Linked DNA regions of Homo sapiens: regions 2, 3 and 4 are each linked to region 1. The links are contacts of gene promoters, found by promoter capture Hi-C in human tissues and cell types (Jung and others, 2019). All regions are on one chromosome and are shown on one strand. Each heading gives the region's core, a stretch centred on a gene start or on the middle of the fragment in contact. The rest is flanking DNA. Distances are from core to core; before and after follow the strand shown.

Evidence for each region. The method cuts DNA at HindIII sites, captures the fragments that hold promoters and counts their contacts. A contact is called where the count stands out against the background at its distance.
Region 2: a contact is called between a fragment that was not itself captured here and the fragment with the promoter of TPM2 in region 1, in 6 of the 25 tissues and cell types used here (bladder, heart left ventricle, liver and 3 more).
Region 3: a fragment that was not itself captured here is called in contact with the fragment with the promoter of TPM2 in region 1 in 2 of the 25 tissues and cell types used here (lymphoblastoid cells and thymus).
Region 4: a fragment that was not itself captured here is called in contact with the fragment with the promoter of TPM2 in region 1 in 4 of the 25 tissues and cell types used here (heart left ventricle, lymphoblastoid cells, mesenchymal stem cells and 1 more).

Annotation. Positions count from the first base shown.
Region 1 is chr9:35,688,544-35,692,161 of GRCh38, reverse strand. It overlaps TPM2 (tropomyosin 2), which reads left to right and starts at 2,237. Exons shown (of 9, transcript NM_003289.4): 1 at 2,237-2,458; 2 at 2,891-3,016. The coding sequence starts at 2,345. RefSeq lists a silencer at 820-899. The HindIII fragment of the contact is 5,966 bases long and covers 1-3,618 here.
Region 2 is chr9:35,858,055-35,861,604 of GRCh38, reverse strand. It overlaps TMEM8B (transmembrane protein 8B), which reads right to left. Exons shown (of 13, transcript NM_001042590.4): 13 at 1-3,550. It also overlaps the pseudogene OR13E1P. Among named protein-coding and RNA genes, the nearest start is that of OR13J1, 11 kb to the left of the region's middle. The HindIII fragment of the contact is 4,522 bases long and covers 1-3,550 here.
Region 3 is chr9:35,554,036-35,557,523 of GRCh38, reverse strand. It overlaps RUSC2 (RUN and SH3 domain containing 2), which reads right to left. Exons shown (of 12, transcript NM_014806.5): 3 at 1,823-2,464; 4 at 1,387-1,572; 5 at 1,076-1,216. Among named protein-coding and RNA genes, the nearest start is that of CIMIP2B, 8.1 kb to the left of the region's middle. The HindIII fragment of the contact is 7,099 bases long and covers 1-3,488 here.
Region 4 is chr9:35,894,024-35,897,141 of GRCh38, reverse strand. No RefSeq gene overlaps it. Among named protein-coding and RNA genes, the nearest start is that of HRCT1, 11 kb to the left of the region's middle. RefSeq lists an enhancer at 1,253-1,752. The HindIII fragment of the contact is 7,635 bases long and covers 1-3,118 here.

The DNA of each region.
Region 1 (3,618 bases), core at 988-3,487:
TAGGTGAGGCGGTGGGAAGAGAAGTGGCCAGGGAAGGCTTCCCAGAAAAGCTGACACTTACTGAGTCTTAAAGGCCACCAGGAATCAGCCAAGGGGATGGGCATTTTAGGGAGAGAGAACAGAATGCATAAACTGTGGAAGCTTTAAGAAAAGTATGGCTATTTCCAGCTCCTGCACGTAGCTCATTATGAATGCAGCATGAGGTACAAGTATGAATACTGGGGGTGAGGTTGGGCATGGAAGGAGATGAGGCCAGAGAGGCAGGCAACAGCCAAAACAACGGGCCTTCTATACCATATTAAGAAATGTGGATTTTTTTTTTCTCCTCAAAACAGGCAGGGTGCCCGCACGCCTGTAATCCCAGCTACTCAGGAGGCTGAGTCGGGAGGATCACTTAAGCCCATAAGTTCAAGACCAGCCTGGGCAATCTAGCAAGCTCCCGTCTCAAAAAAGGTGGGGGGACAGGGATTAGGGAGGGGTTTTGGAGAATTTTAGATAATATTCGCATTAACTTTTAAAAAGATATTTGACAACAATGTCATGGGACAGTCAAATGAATGAATGAGTTGAGGAACTAGAAGTAAGACTACAAAACAGACTGAAGAAAACATAAGGCGCGGCCAGAGGCCAGCCCAGACCGACCCGAGGAGGAACCTCCTTGGTAGAAGGCAGCCTCTCCAGGATTAGGTGGTTGTGAGACGCGAAGGGCAGGGGATACCCAGTGGTCTAGCATAGGCTACTGGTGGATGAGGCGTCTTCCACGGAGTTAGAGGAACACTGCGAGGTCAGGCCAGGGTTGCTCTCCGTGTGGCTAGCAGGCAGCTAAACAGATCTGAATGCATTTCCACGCCACCTCCCCACCGCCCCGGCCAGCGGCCTCGGGTTCCCACGGTCCCCAGCCCACTGCAAAATCCAGGCCTCCCGCCCCTCTATGACTGGAGGGTGGGGGCGAGGCTAGCAGCTCCCTCCCGGCTTCCTCCGCTTGTTCTCTCCTCCCCTTCCCCCTCCTCCCGGCGGCTCTCCACTTCCTTTCCCCCCACCCCACCCCAGGGAAAAACGAAAACAAACACCCTCGCGCCTCGCGCCTCCGACTCCCAGACCCCACGACCCGGCTCCGGCGCTGGTTTGGCGGCCTGGGTGGGAGAAGGCACCTCGCCCCGGACCCCCTATGCCCCGCAGCTCAGTGACTCTTCCCCTCGCCCTCCGCCTTCCCCGCCGCAGCCCGGCTCCGCCTCCCAATGGGGAAACATCCCAAAAAAGGGCAGAAAAGAAATTTCAGCATAAAGTTGGCCCACTGGGAAAGAGAGGAGCGTCCGCGGGGAGCGGGGGAGAAGAGGGAAGGCGCGCGGAGGGGAGTGGGGCCAGGCGGAGCCAGGGGCGGGGAGCGGAGGGGCTCGGGACGCGTCCGGGTGGGAGCGGGGGCGGGGAACGCGCGGTGACCAGCCTGGCCGCAGCCGCGTGGAAAATATGCGGGGCACGTGGGGGGCGGGGCGGGGAGCTGGGTCCTGAGCCGCCGGGTGCTCGCAGGAAGGGCCTGGCTCCAGGGGCAGGGGCTGGGAGGGGAGGCGAGGGGATGAGAGGTCAGGCCGGTCCTGGGGGCAGCAAGCCCGGCCACACTCCCCACCGCGACCGGGGCTCTGGGCTCGCTTCCTGCTTCAGTTTCCCCAAGCTCCCGATGAGACTCCGCTACTACCACCACGTCGATAACGCAAACCTAGAGGGACTCAGGGTAAACTGAGGCACTCAAACTGCCGAGGAGCTCCGCCTCCCGAGAGACATTTAATCCGGGGGGATTTGCAGGAAACTTCTAAATTAAGGGTAGCGGCTGCTGCAGCTGAGGGGGGGCACGCCGGTCCCTGCGCCCGGGCAGCTGCCGTGAGCTCACGCCCCGAAATAGCCCCAGGGGCCCCAGCCGCAGCTGCCACTGGGTCCGGCTGTCACTCAGAGGAAGCACGGAGCCCCCAGCCCAAGGGTCCCCTCCCCTTCGCATCGCCGGGGTTTTTCCAGCCGACCGTCGGCCACTTTTTCCTCCGACGGCTGGCAGGGAAGAGGGGGATGGGGGCGGGACCCCAAGGGAGGCGGTCCCCAGTGGGTGGGCGAAGGGGGCGGCCGCACCCCCCGGCCGGGCCGTGCTTCTGCCCCTACAAGGTTTGGGCCGAGGTGGGGGAGGGTCCTGGTTGCCGGCCCCGCCCGGTCCCTCCCCGCCTTTTAGGCGCCCGCGTGGCCGGGACGTCCCAGTCCCGCTCCGTCCTCCTCGCCTGCCACCGGTGCACCCAGTCCGCTCACCCAGCCCAGTCCGTCCGGTCCTCACCGCCTGCCGGCCGGCCCACCCCCCACCGCAGCCATGGACGCCATCAAGAAGAAGATGCAGATGCTGAAGCTGGACAAGGAGAACGCCATCGACCGCGCCGAGCAGGCCGAAGCCGACAAGAAGCAAGCTGAGGACCGCTGCAAGCAGGTTAGGGCCGGGCCCAGTGCAGCCTGCTCTCCCCGCGCCTAGGGCAAGGGTGGGCCGCTGCCATGGGTCCCCCAGCCCCGGGCCTGCCCGCCAAGGCTCTCTCTCACCCAGGGTGGGGGCTGGGCCTTCGCAGTACCCTCAGGGCCTTCGCCAGAGCCGCTTCTCTCCCCTACAATAGCCTGGGGAAGCCCCAGGCCCCTGGTTTCCACTCTGCCTTTGCAGAGCGCGGTTGGTCCTGCTCCTTGGGGCCTGAAGTTTTCTCTGTACCCTCAACGGGTCCCACCAGTACCCTTGACTGTACTGTCCCTTTTATGTTATTCCGCTTCCATCCCAGTAGCCTCCAAATCTTAGTAGCGCCCCTACACACACCGCGTCTCCATTCTGGGCCTGGGCCCCCTCCCAGCCTGGCTGACCAAGTCCCCTCTGTCCCAGCTGGAGGAGGAGCAGCAGGCCCTCCAGAAGAAGCTGAAGGGGACAGAGGATGAGGTGGAAAAGTATTCTGAATCCGTGAAGGAGGCCCAGGAGAAACTGGAGCAGGCCGAGAAGAAGGCCACTGATGTGAGTGTGGACTTGGGGGACAATGGGAGGAGTTAGGGCTCTGGGAAGGGGCCCCCCGGGTATGGGAATAAGAGGATTGGGGCACCTTATCCCCTTATGTCCCCAGCGCCAGGAGAGAAATGGTTTCATCTCAGTAACCAGGGCTAGGGTAAACTTACACAAGTAATCCAAGACAGTGGATAAATCAAAACCACCTACCACTTCCCCCAGAGGACTTAGCCCTGTAATTCTGTTTGGTTCCAGCTTTTAGAATGTACAGTGATCAAGCAATGAGTCATTGTGGGGGTGGAAGGTATAAGAATTTACCATCTACCTCAATTAATCCTCCAGCTGAAATTGGAGAGGAGACTGCAGCCGTTTGGGGATGGGGGGATGTGGATGTGAGGTACTAGCCTGCAGGAGGAGGGAGAGGGATCCAGAGATGAGACCCCACTTGAGTTACAACCCTAAGGGGCCATTAGAAATTCCCTGGCCTTGACCTCTGGCTTCAGCAGCCCTGCTGTGCCCTGGGGCCCCAGCTCAGGTTCTAATGGCTCCTCATTTACCCTCATTAAGCTGTCAGCCTGGAGACCATGCCAGGCCACAGGGCAGAGGGACAGGGC
Region 2 (3,550 bases), core at 118-2,617, 170 kb before region 1:
TGGGTTTTGGAGTCGTGCATTCGCTATCTGCTGGGTGCCTGCTATTGGCAGCACTTGCTGCATGAGGTGCTGGTAGGAAGGAGGCAGAGTCCTGCTCTTAAGGTGTAGTAGAGAAGACAGGTGCACCACAGCGCACAATGACACAGAGGGATGGCCAAGGGCAGTGGGAGCACAAGAAGGCAGCAGGTAACAGCAAGGGGAAGGAGAGGGAGGAAAAGAGATGGAGCAGTGCTGGGCTCTGGAGAATGGGCAGAACACCCCCCACTGGGGATGGGCGGGAGGACACGCCTCCATCTCGGACAAAGGTGCGGAGCTGGGAAAAGAGATGGTTTCTTCAGGAAAGGGTGAGCCCTGCAACTCGACAAATCGTGGATACAACGAAACAGGAGGAATAAGAGAAAGAAGAAATCTAGCCCGGAAGGACAGACAGGGCTCCACTGCTGTCACAAAGCACTGTCCTCACAACCAACCCAGGAGCGAAGGGCAGGAGGGGAGAGGTGGATTATATCTTCTGAGTGATAAAAGTTCACACTCAGCTCCTATTTTTCCTTCAGACCAGGGGCCACCTGGCCATAAGACATTTTTCCAGTTCTAACAAGACTACTGTTCTCTGGACACACCTGGGCTTCCTCCTAGGAATACCTGACGCTGGCCTTTCCCGAGGAGAAGTGAGAGCAGCTCTGCATGGCGATGGAGGTCACCTGGGAGAGACCACAGCCTCGCCCACCGCTCCCTTTGCAAAGCTGGTCACAACTGACCGCACCTCCACCAGATTCGTGCCTGGCTTCCCTCCTCGTGTGACATCATTGTCAGTATCATTTCTCCTACAAAGCAATATGGAGGCCAGAAAGTAAGTTGCTTGGCTTTCATGACCACAGTTCAGTCCTGTGACCAGTAACTCTATTGAGACATGTACGTTCTTATGTGTCCTTTTAAACAAAATAATGAATGGTCCATGATTCCTTAAGGAGAGATGACCAGAAATCAAGCTTACACATCCTATGGGGCTGAAATATTTGATCTTCATGGCCCAAGGAACACTAGGTGAGCATCATCCATTACCCACCTGCCTTCCGGAGCTCATCTCACCTGACTCAGGGAGTGGGGCAGCGCCTGTGACAGGTGTGGAATCCTTTTGTCCACTTACTTTCCTTACTGCTATAGCCCCAGCACCTGATACCTAGCACAGAATAGGTACTTAATAAATACTTAGTGGATGAATAAATCTGAAATACTATGGCCATAATTTGGTCACATGAAACCGTAATGTAGAAAAGATGCTTCCTGTTAATGACCAAAAACACTTTGGATTCCAAACGATCATTTTAAACATGAATCTTTCTCTGCTGTCTCCTCTGACCCCATCCTGGGGAGAGCAGAGAGGAGCCTAGGGGACTAGAATGTGCCCCATCCTCCCCTCAGTGACGTCCACAGAACTGCAGCGCTGAGAAGGCCAGATTGCAGATCTGAAGTCCAACTCCCTCATTATACAGATGGTGAAACTAAATTCCAGAGAGGGAGGCTGACCTGCTGCAGCTCAGACATCAGGTCACTGGGCTCCCAGGCCAGTTGGAGCTTTTTCCAAAAAGCTGGGTGGTCCAGATGGAAAAGGAGAGAGAATGAGATGAAGTGGGCAAACCAGACAGCTGTGACGGAATACGTCCTGATGGGGCTACACGAGCACTGTAACCTGGAGGTGGTCCTGTTTGTGTTCTGCCTGGGCATCTACTCCGTGAATGTGTTGGGGAACGCCCTCCTCATAGGGCTGAACGTGCTGCACCCTCGCCTGCACAACCCCATGTACTTCTCAGCAACCTCTCCCTCATGGACATCTGCGGCACCTCCTCCTTTGTGCCTCTCATGCTAGACAATTTCCTGGAAACCCAGAGGACCATTTCCTTCCCTGGCTGTGCCCTGCAGATGTACCTGACCCTGGCGCTGGGATCAACGGAGTGCCTGCTGCTGGCTGTGATGGCATATGACCGTTATGTGGCTATCTGCCAGCCGCTTAGGTACCCAGAGCTCATGAGTGGGCAGACCTGCATGCAGATGGCAGCGCTGAGCTGGGGGACAGGCTTTGCCAACTCACTGCTACAGTCCATCCTTGTCTGGCACCTCCCCTTCTGTGGCCACGTCATCAACTACTTCTATGAGATCTTGGCAGTGCTAAAACTGGCCTGTGGGGACATCTCCCTCAATGCGCTGGCATTAATGGTGGCCACAGCCGTCCTGACACTGGCCCCCCTCTTGCTCATCTGCCTGTCTTACCTTTTCATCCTGTCTGCCATCCTTAGGGTACCCTCTGCTGCAGGCCGGTGCAAAGCCTTCTCCACCTGCTCAGCCCACCGCACAGTGGTGGTGGTTTTTTATGGGACAATCTCCTTCATGTACTTCAAACCCAAGGCCAAGGATCCCAACGTGGATAAGACTGTCGCATTGTTCTACGGGGTTGTGACGCCCTCGCTGAACCCCATCATTTACAGCCTGAGGAATGCAGAGGTGAAAGCTGCCGTCCTAACTCTGCTGAGAGGAGGTTTGCTCTCCAGGAAAGCATCCCACTGCTACTGCTGCCCTCTGCCCCTGTCAGCTGGCATAGGCTAGGTTGTGCTGTGGTCATGACCTCAAACCTTGAGAGGCTTAAAGCCATTAAGGTTTGTTTCTTGCTCCTGATGCAGGTCCACCAGAGGCTGGTGGGGCTTCTGCTCCGCATCATGGTCTTCACCCCTCTGGGACTCAGGATGACAAAACAGCTACCATTGGGAACACTGCTGGTCACCATGACAAAAAGAAAAGGGAAAGTAACAAAGCCTACACTGACTCTTAAAGCTTCTACTCAGAAGTGGCTGTGTTGCCTCCACCTACATTTCAGTGGCCAACACAATGGCAACAGGAAGGCACAGGACCACACCTATTGTTAAGGGGGAAAAGCACACTATCGTGTGTCTGGATGGCAAACGAGAGGGACAGAGAGATTTGTGAATGGCCTAATGACTACCACACCAGCTGACAGTGTCAACCCAAGAGCTATGGGAGGTTTGGCTTTCTTTATCCTGACCATCTATCCTTCACGGGCTGCTGCCAAGTTAATCGTCCCAAGAAAGCTCTGGTTAGCTCACGTGTGGTAGCTTTATACTGAGTCAACCAAACTAGGTTAGAGGGTGTGGGTTAGGGTTGGCCACAGAGAAGTTTGCATGTGATTTGGAAGGCAAAAGTGGGCCAGGTGTGGTGGCTCATACCTGTAATCCCAGCACTTTGGGAGACCGAGGTGGGAGGATCACCTGAGGCCAGGAGTTCGAGACCAGCCCGGGAAATGTGATGAAACCCTGCCTCTACTAAAAACACAAAAAATTAGCCAGGTGTGGTGGTGCACCTGTAATCCCAGCTACTAGGGAGGATCGCTTGAACTTGGGAGGTGGAGGCTGCAGTGAGCTGAGATGGCGCCACTGCACTCCAGCCTGGGCAACAGAGTGAGACTCCGTCTCAAAAAAAAAAAAAAGAAAGAAAGAAAAAAAATGGAACAGCACCAGACACAGTGAGGGCACCCCCATGT
Region 3 (3,488 bases), core at 230-2,729, 130 kb after region 1:
TGGCTTGTCAGCACTCTCTGCCATACCCTCAAGTTGCCATGTGAAATCGACACCCCTCCTCTCAAGCCCTTGGTTCTGCTTCAGAGAACAGAGTTCCCTAGTTATAAACTCCTTTAACTTCCCTCTACCTCCAAAATCCATAACAATCTCATATGTACACCCCTCACTCCCCTGCCCACTTGCATCCCCTTCGCGTCCTGGAGGAAGGTGGCCGTTTCCCTTCTTGCCCGGGTTCTTTCTCCCTGAGCTCTGATTCTCCCCTTCTGCCTTTGCAAGGAACTTCAGCTCTCTCTTCACAGGCTCATCTTCAGCCCACAATTATGCTCAGTTCTCTCCATCTCCCTAAAAATGTTCTTAGTTCAGTGGTCACTTATTTGCTAAATAGTGTGGGTCTTGTCAATCTTCATCTTACTAGATGTCACCAACACTCTTACCCAAGCTGCTGGGCCCTCTAGTACCTTCACCCGCCCCCTCCAAGAGCACTGAGGCATTTTTTGATGACATGGAAGCCTCCTCATGAGACTTTGCTCACTGCAGGAAGGGACCGGAGCGTGACTCTGAAAGCCTCTGATGAATGACCCTTGCTCACTCACATGCACTCATGATACACAGCACACAGCTTCCTCCTCTGGCCCCAGAGCCTGTGTGCTCCAACACCTTCCCAGCACCTGGAGATTTGTTTGTGGTTTTCTTTTGAAAAGGAGTTTTCAGTTTTGTTGCCCAGGCTGGAGTGCAATGGTGTGATCTTGGCTCACTGCAACCTCCACCTCCTGGGTTCAAGTAATTCTCCTGCCTCAGCCTCCCGAGTAGCTGGGATTACACGCGCCCACCACAACACCCAGCTAATTTTTTTTTGTGTTTTTAGTAGAGATGGGGTTTCACCATGTTGGCCAGGCTGGCCTCGAACTCCTGACCTCATGATCCACCTGCCTTGGCCTCCCAAAGTGCTGGGATTACAGGCGTGAGCCACTGGGCCCAGCCAGCACTTAGAGGTTTCAGACTGGCTAGGTAGTAGGGCAAGTGTGAGGAGGTAGTGACAGCAGAGTCCCTGGCCTGAGCTGGGGGTTGTATGCACCTTTTTTCTGAAGCAGGTCAATGGAAATGGCCTCTGAGCTGCCATCTGGGGACAGACAAAACTCAGCTGGAGGCTTCTCCGTCAAGGAAAAGGGGTCCTGGAAGTCAGGGCAGGTCAGTGGTAACGGCTTCACTGCTTGGCCTGGAAAGAAGAGAAAAATCAATCCTGAGCAACTCTCAGTGCAGGAGTTCCAGGCCAGTTCAGTGCCTCGTACCGTCTGAGACACGTTCCTTTGGGACTGACCCCTTCTCTAGCCCTTTCCAGCCATGGCAGAGCCTGCCCCGGGTGTACTGGGGACCCTGCTCACACACCATTCAGCCGGCAGTTCAGATGGCTGGCAGCACTGAGGGAGCCAGGGAACTCAAAGATAGGGTTTCTTCGGGCCAGCCGAGCTTCTTGTGATCTTCGGTCTAGGCTCCCTGACAAACCAGGTGGCCCTAGTGGGTTCTTCCTCCTGTATTCCCGCCACTTGAGGGCTTGAGGGGATAGGTGGTTGGCTGGAAGCAGAACAGATTAGCAGAAAGACAAGAGTTGGCAGGAGACAGCGAGACAGAGTTTCACATCCACCCAGTGGGCCCATATGAAACACTAGATTATCTGTGGATATTATCTACAGATGCTGAGGGAGGGATGCAGACATCCTAACCTCTGGCCCCAGGTGAGAGTGTAAGCAACCACTCAAAGGGGAGGTGGTGGAAGTGCTTGCGTGAGGTGGCGGGTTGGGTAGGGAGATGCTGGAGCTCGTACCATTACTGGGCCTGGTGGCCATGCTGCCCTCACCACCTCCCCGGGCCAGGCTCTCTGCTCGGCTGAGGCCAGATCGCCAGGAGCCCAGAGGCGGCAAGCTTCCTGTTCCATGGAGCCGGTACTCAGTCAAGGTCAGTATCTTCTGATCCTCCTTCTGCGGCTGCTGGGAGGTGGCAGGCCGGACAGCAGAAGGACAGGAGTGGCTCCATGGGGGCAGGCTTTCTGTGGCTGTGGGCTGCTCTGGGGGAGGGGAGCACGAAGTGGAGGCAGAAGAGTCAGTGCTGGGCCCAAAGGGGCCAACACTCCGGATGGGGGAGTAGCTGCCCAGGGGCGATGGCCGAGAGGTCTCTGGCTCAGACCCAGCTTTCCTGGCACCTCTGCCAGTGGCTCGGGGAGTGGATGCCTGCGGTTCCCCTGAGGGAGCTGGGACTGAGACTTGAGCAGCAGGGGCAGCCAGTGGGGCAGGCTGCTGTGTACGGCTGCAGCCTGAGAGGCTGTAGAGCTGGGAAAGGCTGTGGAGGGCCCGGGCCTTGGCCAGCTGCTTGGGGAAGTGGTGCTGGAACACGAAGGGCTGGATGGGCAGTGTGGTTGGCCTCTGTTCCTTGCTGTAGCGAAGGACTGGTCGGCTCTCGGTGCCACCCCCTGTAGCAAAGGGATGGAGAAGAAATCAGTAGACAGACACTGAAACCCATATGAGAGAAAACCCAGAAGCAGAGATGGGAGAGGGGAGAGGGGCAGGGACCTGGCTGGCAGGAATTGAATGGGGTAGAAGTTCGTGGAATGGGACACTGCTCCCCTCTTTTGTAAAACGCTTCCTATTGCTTTTATGGTGCTGGACTGTCTTGTACCTCTCTGCTGTTCAGTCCCTCTTCATTTTCTTGACTCCAAAGGTGAGTGTATCTTAAGGCTCAACTCTTGCATCTCACCTTACACTTTATTTCTTGAGAAGTTTTGAGTTCAGACTTCTACGGGATGACTCCCAAACCCACAGCTTTAGCCTGGACCTTCCTCTTCATCTCCAGATCATTCTGCTTTATAGTTCTGCTTTCACTTAAAATGTGCTATAACCGCTTATCCATCACCTTTCTCCTTTTTTCCGATGACTTCCATTTCTATCAATGGCAGAACCATTTTCTTTGTTTCTAAGTCTTGGAGTCACAGTCACACACATTTTCAGTGATGAAAATGTTTCAGATGTTACTGACTTCAAGCTTTTGCTCATTATCCCATCTCCAATCATGCCAGCACATTTCATTCCTGAGCATATCGAACCATAGTAAGATATTTCTTTACTTGCAGCCTACCTGTTATCTGTATCTACCCCCACTCCCACTCTTTTCACGATCCTGGCATTGGAACCTCAGAGTCCACATTTGCTCCCCCTGAACGGAGGTATGTTCCCCAAGGCTGGGCCTCTCCTGTTCTTTCAGGCAGTCTTCAGGTCAATGTCCTTCAAAACGTGGTGCTCAGAACTAAACACAAAACTCCAGGACACTGGAGTGGGACAGTGGATGGACTGCACTTCCAACAAAACACTGTAGATCTCCGAATAAACGTAAGATGGCGCTATAAGCACGCACCCGGCCTAAAGCCCTGGTGAAAGCTCACCAGCAGTGGGGCTCAGTAGCTCTGCGAGGCGGGAATTAGTTCTCTTACTTGACATATT
Region 4 (3,118 bases), core at 230-2,729, 210 kb before region 1:
ACTTTGGGAGGCTAAGGCAGGCAGATCATTTGACTCCAGGAGTTCAAGACCACCCTGGCCAACATGGTGAAATCCCATCTCTAAATAATAATAATAATAATAATAATAATAATAATAAATTTAGATTCTAAAATTTAAAAATAAAAATACAAAATCGGTGATTTTCCTACATAACAGTAATTACTAATTCAAAGACAGAATGAAGGCATTATTGAAACTTAAAACAAAAATTATAAAACTTCTAAGAACAAACAAGAATAAACTTAACAAGAGATGTGGAAGACCAATGAACAAAAGAAAAAGCAAGTCTTCACTGACAGCTGTGAAAGAAGACCTGACTAACCGAAGCACCACACCATGTGTCTGAAAGGGAGGAGCCCGCATTATAGTCCAGGCTGCACTTCAGGGGATATGGATCCTGTGAGACTTGCAAACAACCTGCCACAAGCATCTGTTAAATAAATTCTTATATGCTATAGAGGTAATATTTTTGAAAAGTAGTAATATACTTTTTTTGAGATAGGATCTTGCTCTGTTGCCCAGGCTAGAGTGCAGTGGCATGATCAGAGCTCACTGCAGCCTCTACCTCCTCCCAAACAATCCTCCCGCCTCAGCCTCCCAAGTAGCTGGGACTCCAGGTGTGTGCCACCACGTCTGGCTAACTTTTTTATTCTTTGTAGAGACGTGGTCTCGCTATGTTGCCTAGACTGATAACCTGCTCTTTAAAGTTACTTTTCCAAATATGTAAGTTTCTTCCTAGTTGTTCCAGAGCATTTGTCTGGAGAGAGAGTTGAATTATTACAAAAAGAATGCAAGGAGAAGGACTTTAATATGCATGCAGTCTTTGACCTTCAAAATTGGACTTTGCCCTGTAAGTCAAGCCAGTTTCCTAAGAGGATTTTCCAAATTCTTTTTTCTCTCCCTTTCAACACACTGAATCAAGGACCAAACGAGGACCCAGCCCATGCAGATCTCCTATAACGTAGAAAGCTCCTCCATTCCACATGCGACAGCCATGTAGCCGAAGTTTGAAGCTCTAAGGTAGATGGAGGCCATGATATCCAGGCCTGGGAGAAGCCTGGTTCCTTCTGGCCCCAAAGGATGATGGGAAGGAGAGAGAAGAAAGGCATGAAGTGCAAAATGTGTGCAGCAGCTGCTAGGGAGCTTCAAAAACAAATGGGGAAGGCTACAGGAAGACAGGGCTAGAGGTGAATACACTGAGGCACTGATGTTATTTGGATGGGGAGTGTGGTCTGCAAAATCTAGGAATTCATGAAAATGTGACCTCATTTGTACATGCAGGGTGGTTAGTGCTGGCAATGTTTGTGTTACACCTATAAACACGCACAGACAGAAGTCTGAAGAGCTACAAGATGCAATCTTTATAGGGCTTCCTCTGAGCAGTGAGTTTGCAGGTGACTGCTTTTTATTTGGCATTTCTACATTTCTAAAACTTGCAACAATAAACATTTTACTTGTATAATAATGAAAGCAACAAAAGTTACAGCACCTTTAGAAAAATATTCAGAAGCATGCCCACCAAGTAGAACAGGTCTGCAAAGTGATCCACCTATTCACCAACGAAGAGAGCAGCTAGACCCCAGAATCATAAGCTTCATTGGTGTCATTTTAAAGATGCCAGCCAGGCGCGGTGGCTCATGCCTGCAATCCTAGCACTTTCGCAGGCCAAGGGCGGCGGATTGCCTGAGCTCAGGAGTTCGCAACCAGCCTGGGCGACACAATGAAACCCCATCTCTACTAAAATACAAAAAAATTAGCCAGGTGTGGCGGCGTGCGCCTGTAGTCTCAGCTACTCAGGAGGCCAAGGCAGGAGAATCGCTTGAACCCGGGAGGCAGAGGTTGCAGTGAGCCGAGATCGCGCCACTGTGCTCCAGCCTGGGTGACAGAGCGAGACTCTGTCTCAAAAAAAAAAAAAAAAGATGCCAACAGGTGGAAGAGGTCTCCTAGATTCACTGTCCTTGGGGATGTGTGGGAGCTGATTAATCCAAGGGGACTGCTTCTCCTGCCTTCCCTGGGCAGCATGTCCATGGGCTTTGAGACATGTATATGCAGTAAACATAGTGAACTTTCTTGAGCCTAAGTTTGCCCTCATGCACAACGAGGGAAGAACTGGAGACAGATTGAATCTGTGCAGTCTAAGATTTATTGCTCTCTGGATTTTCAAGTCTCTGTAATTTTCTGAAATCATTATCTAAAGATAATTGTGACACTTAGAATTATATTCATTGATATAACTAACATCTGTTGAACTAGACTCTGTGCCTGGTGCTGAGGCTGGGTAGAAAAAAGACAATCCATGCCTTCCAAGAGCTTTTTACCTAGGACAGGAGACAGAAATATAAATTATTACAACACACTGGGTAAATTCTGGGACCTAAATATTCACAAGGAAAGCACAAAAGGAGTCATTCATAAGCAATAATCTCCTTTCCTTTTCCTCCCCAACTATTTTAATAATTGCTAGAATAATTACACTTTACAAATGTATCTTTAGATCTCACAACAAACCTATTGTCCTCACATTACATAGGAGGCTTAGAGAGTTAAAGCTCTCACTGTTGCCCGGCATGGTGGCTCACCCCTGTAATCCCAGCACTTTGGGAGGCCAAGGTGGGTGGATCACCTAAGATCAGGAATTCGAGACCAGCCTGACCAACATGGTGAAACCCCATATCTACTAAAAATACAAAAAAATAGCTGGGTGTGTAATCCCAACTACTCAGGAGGCTGAGGCAGGAGAATCGCTTGAACCTGGGAGCAGAGGTTGCAGTGAGCCGAGATCGTGACACTGCACTCCAGCCTGGAGGATACAGTGAGACTCTGTCCCCCAAAATAACAAATAAATAAATAAAGCACCCATTCTGGGTCACGCAGTAGTAAATGACAGAGCCAGAATCAAGTGCAGACCTGTCTGACCCCAAAGCCTACCTCTAACCCAGAACAATATTGTGCTAGGCTGAGAGATGTAACCGAGTATGATGCTTCACTCAGAAAGCTTGCTCTCTGATGGGAAAGAGAAGTCATGTCTCCGAGAATCCACAGGAGAGGAAAATCAGGACACAGGCATAAGAGGATAATAAAGAGGAAAAGGAGAGAA